Linked DNA regions of Homo sapiens: region 2 is linked to region 1. The links are contacts of gene promoters, found by promoter capture Hi-C in blood cells and fetal thymus (Javierre and others, 2016). All regions are on one chromosome and are shown on one strand. Each heading gives the region's core, a stretch centred on a gene start or on the middle of the fragment in contact. The rest is flanking DNA. Distances are from core to core; before and after follow the strand shown.

Region 1 (4,152 bases), core at 762-3,261:
ATATGGCGATTGAGCCAGGACTGGAACCAGTTTTTTAATTCATTCCAGGCATCCTTTCCTCTGTGCCACACAGTATAAACTCTCAGTTACGTTTTAGCTCAGCACTTGTGAGATAAAGTGGCACTGTCCTTCAGGGAGAGACAGAAATGCATGCTGCTGAAAAGCAAGAACCAGATGCCAGACCACGTGGGTAAGAATCATAGCTACATCAACTACCAGTTGAGGTTGTGATGGGTAAGCCACCTAACCTCTTTGTGGCTCCATTTCCTCAACTGTTAAATAGGGATAACAACAGTACCCACCTTAGAGGATTGTTTTTTGGTTTTTTGTGCGTGTGTTTTATTTGAGACAGAGTCTCATTCTGTCACCCAGGCTGGAGGGCAGTGGCATGATCTCAGCTCACTGCAACCTCTGCCTCCTAGGTTCAAGCAATTCTCGTGTCTCAGCCTCCTGAGTAGCTGGGATTACAGGTGTGCATCACCACACCTGGCAAATTTTTGTATTTTTAGTAGAGATGGGGTTTTGCCATGTTGGCCAGGCTGGTCTCGAACTCCTGACCTCAGGTGATCCACCTGCCTCAGCCTCCCAAAGTGCTGGGATTACAGGCGTTAGCCACCCGCGACCAGCCTAGAGGATTGTTAAGAGTATGAAATTAATACGTATAAAGCCCTTAGTGCCAGTGCCTAGCACATAAGCATGGGTTATTGTTGTAAAGGAGCAACTGAGTCACTCAGGTATTTTCCTCCTAATCATGTGCCTGGAATCTTTAGGTAAAAGAGAGATGACTCACATACCCTCATACCCTGCCCCAGCACCCCTACGCCAGGAGTTATTTCTGGAGCACTCGTAACAGTTTTTTATTCTGTTCCCCTACAAGCCACTGACTCTTGATTTGATTCTGTCCCTACAAGCCACCTGGACTCTTCCTGAGAAACAAAGGAGCCTCGTGGGCCCTTCATGGTTTCTACCACCTTCCCTCCCTTTCCTCCCCAGTGCTGGTTCCTGCCCTTCAGAAGGCTGTGTTCCATTCACTCACTCCCAGGTGTGCCCTGGAGGGTGGGAAGTAATAACTGGCCCCAGATGCCCTTATGATCCAAGGGAAGAAATCCAGGCAATGTGCAGACACTGGGTAGACTGGAGCTACGGGACTGGCTGGTCTTCACTGGCTGTATTTTGATCAGGTTATCTTTAATCTCCTTGACCTCGGTCAACATTCAGTTCTGTGAATATTGGGGGAGACGGGGGAAGCTTACCTGGAACACAGTCGGGCGCCAATTCAAACAAGGCCCAGAAAACATTAGGAGTCTGGCCTCTGAGTTGGCTTCTCTGACCCCTAAAATGTGACTAGAGACCGGTGCTAGCCTCTTCCCCCTGCATCTGGGAGGGGAGGGAGTGTCAAGGTGGGTTCACTTTACACTCGGTCCTCCCCTTGTTCTTTCAGCTGCTTCCTGCCCTGCTCCATGGAATCTCATCTAATGGGGTGAAATGCCTAGCACACAGCCAGCATTTTAGGTTTCTCAAATGATCGCTATTGCCATTCATAACAATAACTAACATTCACAACCCTGTGTCGGGTGCCCTCTCACTTGCCCTACATCAGGATCAGCCTGGGTCCTCATTCTCTAGGGCCTCTTTCCCCCAGGGAGGCCTGGAAGTGCAGTCCCGCAGTCCCGGCCGATCGGGACAGCTAAATTGGGAGCGCGATTGAGGCTGGAATGCGGGTGGAGGCACCTGGTCTCCCTCGGCTGCCCGCTCTAGGGGCGCACGCCCCCTCGCCCGTTCCCTCTCCAAGCGTCCTGCTCTAGGTCTGCGAACCCGAGCCTCCCCAGCCTACCCGGGAGTCATGGAGGGAGGGAAGCAGCGTGCGCACCTAGCACACAGCTGCACATTTATTTTCGATGGTTCTCCGAGGCCGGCGGAAGCTGGGAGGGGAGTCGGGGTCGCTCGACTTTCCCGCCGCTGGAGGGGGCGGGGCAACTTGGGCTCTGGCCCCGCCCCTATGCTAGCCCCGCCCTCTTAGGTTGATGGCAGCGGCAGCTGGGGCTGCAGCGGCGCCGGGCTCTAGAGAGCCGCAGGATCGGCCAGAGTGCGGAGCTGGACACCCGGGTCCCAGATACTACAGACACCCGGAGAGGTGGCTCCTTCGCCCTGAAGCCTTCCTCGGCCCCCTACGCACTCGGGCCCCTTCCGCAGAGGATTCGCAGCGTGAGCGCCCCGCAGCCCGCTCAGGACCAGGTACCCAGCCCCCCACACCCGGCCGTCACCGCAGCCAGCGGAGCGGGCGGGGTCCCTGAGGGGCAGAGGTCTGCGCCTCCTCCCCCCGCGCCGCCAAATTCGGTTTCGGGCGGGGAGGACGTGGTGTCTATATTTGGCCGGACAGCAGCCAGCGCTCCCGGAGGGCGCAGACACCTCGTCTCGCAAGAACGCAGTGTCAGGGCAGCAGGCTGAAGAAGGGTGCAGGGAGGCCGGGCCTCAGGCTCGGGGCCGCAGACGCGCCTTGAAGGGCACACGGATGCTGGGGCTGGGGTGGGGCAGGAGCCACTGGCTGGGGCTTTGGGAGTGCTCAGTGTGTCCTCTAGGGAGACCCTAGCTGGAGAAAAGGCACCTCACCCTCCCCACCCCTGCAAATCTGGCTTGGCCGTGGCGGGGGCAGGGGTGGAGGATGGGGTTGAAGACCCCACCCCTAGAAGAGTTCACTAGGAAGAAGGCCCAACCAGGGCAGAGGACCCAGAGGAGAAACCGGACAAGCCTATGGTAGGCAAAAGCCAGAAGACCATGATCAGGGCTTCCTGGAGAAGCCAGTGCAGAAAGGAGTGGGAGAAGAGGGATCCACCTCACTCTGTGCTGCCACCCGTCCCCCCACAAGGCATGGGATGAAAACAGTAGCAGAAAGGACTCAGATTGGTGGACAGGAGGAACTTCCCCCTTGGCAAAATTTTAGGAAAAGGCAAAACCCCATCTGCCTGAACTATTCCAGAGATGCGAGTTCGGTATCCTGTGGTGGCTGCAGTCTTGGCCCCATACCTGGCTTTAAGCCAAGATCCAATGGTCAAGTCTTCTGCTTCTGGACAGGGTGCCTCTGGGAGCTACAACCACGTCCGTGAAGAGATGCTCATCAAGGCTGGCGGTGGTGGGGGCGGGGGGTGCAGGCAGTGTGGCATTGAGGCTCCTCCCAAAAACATTCCAACGTCCAGAAAGCTTTCAGTCTGTTAGGCTCCACAATCCCCTCAGCCTGGGTCTCTGTGGAGAATTCAGGCCCCAAATCCTAGCCACTTACATTAAACAGCATTTTACACAGCAAAATAACTTTCCCATACTTTGACCACCTTGAAGAAAGCTCCCTGCTTCTAGGACCAGACACTATATGGATTTATACCTGACTCCTGACCACATAACCCTTCTCATCAGCCACCCCTCCACTCCTCCTCCCTCCCGCAGCTCACAGGACTAAGGACCAAAGGCATTTCTGGGCACTGAGATCCTACCTCTCTGCCTGCAGCTATGAGCAGACGTGTGGTTCGGCAAAGCAAGTTCCGCCATGTGTTTGGGCAGGCAGCAAAGGCCGACCAGGCCTACGAGGACATCCGTGTGTCCAAGGTCACATGGGACAGCTCCTTCTGTGCCGTCAACCCCAAATTCCTGGCCATTATTGTGGAGGCTGGAGGCGGGGGTGCCTTCATCGTCCTGCCTCTGGCCAAGGTGAGGGATCAGGGAAAGGAAGCAAGTGGGAGGACACTAGCTGGGGCCCCTGGGAACTCCTGAGCCTTTGTTCTCACCTAGTTCCATTCCATAGTCAGGAGAAGCATCTGTGTGGATTGGCTCCTCCCTATTCCCCAAGCCCTCAAGGACCAGAGGGGAGGCCACCCCACCCCACCCTAACATCAGGGTGGCTTACTCCCACTCCCTAGCCCTCCCACCTCTCCATGCACCACCCCATTCCCAGCAGGGACCAGGAGGGGAGCCGGGTGATGGAGATGGTTGGGACACAGCACAGCCAAGCCTGGCCAGATTCCATCACTGCCTCTCCTAATGCCGCATCCCCTCATGTTTTGGGTGTGGAGAACCTCCTCCCTAGCCCAAGATGACCATTTGATTAAGTCACATCCCAGAGCAGCAAACTGAGGACAGGGTCAGGCTCTATCCAAAGAGTCC
Region 2 (4,152 bases), core at 999-3,498, 210 kb before region 1:
TAGATCACCTGAGGCCAGGAGTTGGAGACAGCCTCGCCAACATGGCGAAACCCCGTCTCTACCACAAATACAAAAAAAAAAAACTTAGCTGGGCGTGGTGGCACATGCCTGTAATCCCAGCTATTCAGGAGGCTGAAGCAGAAGAATCACTTGAACCCAGGAGGCAGAGGTTGCAGTGAGCCGAAATCGCACCATTGCACTTGAGCAACAAGAGCAAGACTCCATCTTAAAAAAAAAAAAAAAAAAAGATAAACAGTTGCATTCTGGTAGTGAGATGGCAAGAAGTGTCAAAGTTGTTTTATTGGTATCTTACAGTGAAAATTTTTAAAATTCACTTTAGACTTAAAAATAAGCTGGGATTCTTTGGAGTCTTACATCTAGATTAGCGTCTCTTATTTGTAATCTTAAAGATGAAAATATAGGAAATACTGTATTTGCCCTAAGTTAATACAGGAGAGAAAGAGGTTTTTATCACACACATCCTTTTACCTTTCCCCTCCTCAATTTAAGTCTGAATCTCTGCAGGCTACTGTGAAGAGCCTTGGAACTGAGTAGCGTATAGGTTATGTCTGCAGACGTGTTCAATGTCCTTTGGGGGAGGTTTCTTTCTACATGTAACTGCTTTTTTCCTTCTCAAATTTCTTTAACAGTAGCAGACCCTCACCCGGGTCTGCTAGATGCCTTAAAGGTGAGCTGCAAAGCAGCCACGACTATATCAAACAATTCTGGCACCCAGAATTTATGGCTTATCCTGTTATGAGCTCCATATAACAAGTAAAAATTAAAATCCACTGGCACGTTAATCAAATGTAATGTTGCTGTGTAGTAATAATTTAAATTCTACTATGCAAAGTTATGCCCAGGACTTATGATCAGCCTCCATCTCTCATTGTCATGCATTAAAGCACTACTGCTTCATTTCCTTTCCCATTTGTGGTTTCCACTAGTCTGGTTCTACATCTCTATCTTGAACTAATTAAACTGGCTCAGACTGGAGCAGCTATACCAGGCATAATACCAAGAGGAGAGCAGAACTGGCCTGGGTACTCCTTCACTGACTGTATTTACTCTTTCTTGCCTGACCCCTATGTCTTAAGGGCATGTCCTTAGCTCCCATTTCTTATGTATATTATTACCTTTCACTCATTTATTCTTTTAACCAATATGTGCTGAGTACCTCCTATGTGCTAGACACTGCAGTGGTTGCTGAGGATATGGTGGTGCATGTGATAAACCATAAACATGATTCTTCCCTTTGAAACTTATACTCTAGTGGAGAAAGGTGGGATTAAACAGCTAATTATGCAGTGAAATTTTAAATTATGATCAATTCTGCAAATCGGAAAGTATACAATACTATGAGAATATAGCAATCAGGGACCTAACCTGGCTTGGGGGAAAAAGTGATGTTAAGGTTCATGGTCAAGGGAAAGCTTTCTTGGGGAAATGGTATTTTGAGTTGTACTCTAATGATGAGTTGAAGTCAACCAGGGAAAAGTTAGGTGGGGAAGACACGAATTAAAAACTTACAGATCAGGAAACTGGCACATTCAAGGAACTGACAGAAGGTCAGTAAGGCTGGAACAAAGAAAATAAGGGAGAAAATAACTCAAGCTGGTGCTGATAAAGTCAGCAAAAGGCCAGATGCTGCAGCCTTATAAACTAAGTCAAAAATCTTGATCTTGGCTAGGTGCGGTGGCTCACACCTCTAATCCCAGCACTTTGGGAGGCCGAGGCGGAAGGGTCACCAGGTCAGGAGATCAAGACCATCCTGGCTAACACAGTGAAACCCCATCTCTACTAAAAATACAAAAAATTAGCCAGGTGAGGTGGCGGGCACCTGTAGTCCCAGCTACTCGGGAGGCTGAGGCAGGAGAATGGCATGAACCTAGGAGGCGGAGCTTGCAGTGAACCGAGATTGCACCACTGCACTCCAGCCTGGGCGATAGAGCGAGACTCTGTCTCAAAAAAAAAAAAAAAAAAAATCTTGATCTTTATTTCTTGGACAACAAAAAGCCACTGAAGAGTTTTCAGCTGGGGAGTGACCAGGTTGAGATTTTTTAAAAATATTTGCCTGTCTTTGCTATGGAGAATGGGCTTCTATATGAGCACAACTATTTCCCCAGCAATCAGTACAATGTCTAGCACATAGGAGGTACTCTGTACATATTGGTTAAAAGAAGAATAAATGAGTGATAGGTAACGTATACACAATAAATGGAAGCTAAAGTCATACCCTGAAGAAAGAGGTCAGGCAAGGAAATGTGAATACAGCAGCGAAGGAAGAACCCAGGCTCCCTTCTTCCCTCTCTCCTCTCTCCATATATATATGTACAGACACACACACACACACACACAAGCCATCGACAGTTGGGGCTTCATATCCCTGTGATTTAGTTTGGTTAACTCACTTGTCAGGGAATGGAGCTCTTAATAAAAGGGAAGTTGGCAGAATAGTAGTATGGTGTTATGGTGTGGTGGTAAGGAATGTATATGACCCTAGTTAAGTTACTTTTCTTCTGTCTTAATTTCTTCATCCAAGGAATGGAAATGATAAATAGTATACCTACCTTGGAGGGAGGATTAGTGTGAAGATTAAATGAGATAATGGTTGCAGAGCACTTCGACTAAGGCCTGGCACATTGTTAGCCTTTAATAAACAGCCACTATTACAGTCTAACAATCTCATGAAAGGTTCAGATGTCCCTCTGAGATCCACCCACTTTTTGTGGCTCATGGAATAGCACTCCATTCATGGGTCACATGTGGACTTGTCTAGCCTACACTAATGGACTTTAGGACTCTAGTCTCAAATGGTACAGAAACATGTATATGGTTTAATTTTACAAATGTCATTTGGAGATGGAAATGGAAGCAGAAGGGTTGCTTACTTTAACGCCACTGGGGTTTTGCTTTGAAGCTGGCTTTTCACAAACACCAATGAAAAGGTTCTGTCACTTGCAGGAAATGACAGAATGTAGTTAGTTGCTTGGAAATGTCTGTGTGTCTTTGTTTCCCACAATACTAGGTAACGTCTGTAATTATACTGCTGAACAAAGCTTCAGGTTGATCAAGGTTAATTGTTGATAGTATTTGAAATGTTAATAATGTCTCCCCAAAAACTGCTTTACCAAAATAGATTGTTCTAGCTTCACAAAGGATTTAAATACCATTGATTTATTTCATTCAGCAATATGTAATTCTAGGCCTGGAAACTGGGATCTTCTGATTTAATATTTTCTAAGGAATTGGTACCCAGAAAATGTGTATTCTCTTCTGCTTTAAAGTTTGGCAAATCACTTGCTTCCAGGGATTCTCACTGTCTTTAGCCTTTTCTCTAAAACACACATTTCTGCTTTTGATCCATTTTTGTGGAACTAGGAAGAGGGGTTAAAGCATGCCATCTTTCTGTAGGAGTCCTAGGGAGTTTTGAGTGGTTGGGAATCTATTCTAAAAGTTCACAGTAGATTCAGACCCTGCTGAGAAAGTCTTTACTTTGTATTTAAATTTGTTGTGTAGCTTAAGAAGATAAAAGAGCAGGATTCTTAAGGGGGTTTTGCTGCCAAGTGCTACGAAAGGAAAAATTAAAAGTTTCTTGTGTAGTCAATGAGAGTTCATTGCAATCAAGATCACTTACTGAATTTGTTAAAGACTTCCTGTGATGGCAGGGTTCACAGATGATCAATAATTCTGTTTTTGTAAATACAGGTGAGTTTTGTATCTTATCCTTTATCTAGTCTAACATGATGGCTCTACCTCCATGGCTGCCTTTTCTGTTACTTAGTTCTCTAAGTGAAGAACCAAAAGCATCAGCTAAATTGTTCTAGTAATTAGGAGAGTGTTAGGAATTGGCTAGAAATACAGCTTAACCCAGCTATGGCAGGAAGGTAAGCAGAGGTTCTATCATATGTAATTATCCTCTTTAAAATGGTTAAGAAATGTATTAGATAGCATTACTACTAAAACCTAAGGCTTATATTGATTTAGAAAAACATTCACATTACAGATATTGTAGCTATGCTGGGGTTTTTTTTTTTTCTGTACTCATTCATTCTATTTATTTTTTCCCTAAATTATTTCTTCATTGTTTTGTGTTTGTCCTTTCCAGCTTCAAAAAGCTATACTGAGGGATATGCCAAGTCATAATGCATA

Evidence for each region. Contacts are between HindIII fragments. The CHiCAGO score rates a contact against its expected background, and 5 or more counts as called.
Region 2: a fragment that was not itself captured here is called in contact with the fragment with the promoter of CORO6 in region 1 in 1 of 17 cell types (M2 macrophages); the score reaches 5.7 in M2 macrophages.

The regions. Positions count from the first base shown.
Region 1 is chr17:29,620,771-29,624,922 of GRCh38, reverse strand. CORO6 (coronin 6) reads left to right here and starts at 2,011. Exons shown (of 11, transcript NM_032854.4): 1 at 2,011-2,235; 2 at 3,439-3,699. The coding sequence starts at 3,502. RefSeq lists an enhancer at 211-1,410 and a silencer at 2,198-2,347. The HindIII fragment of the contact is 1,950 bases long and covers 1,251-3,200 here.
Region 2 is chr17:29,827,671-29,831,822 of GRCh38, reverse strand. All of the region lies in intron 2 of SSH2 (slingshot protein phosphatase 2), which reads left to right. LOC124900390 (a long non-coding RNA gene) reads left to right here. Exons shown (of 2, transcript XR_007065694.1): 2 at 4,109-4,152. Among named protein-coding and RNA genes, the nearest start is that of SSH2, 100 kb to the left of the region's middle. The HindIII fragment of the contact is 1,626 bases long and covers 1,436-3,061 here.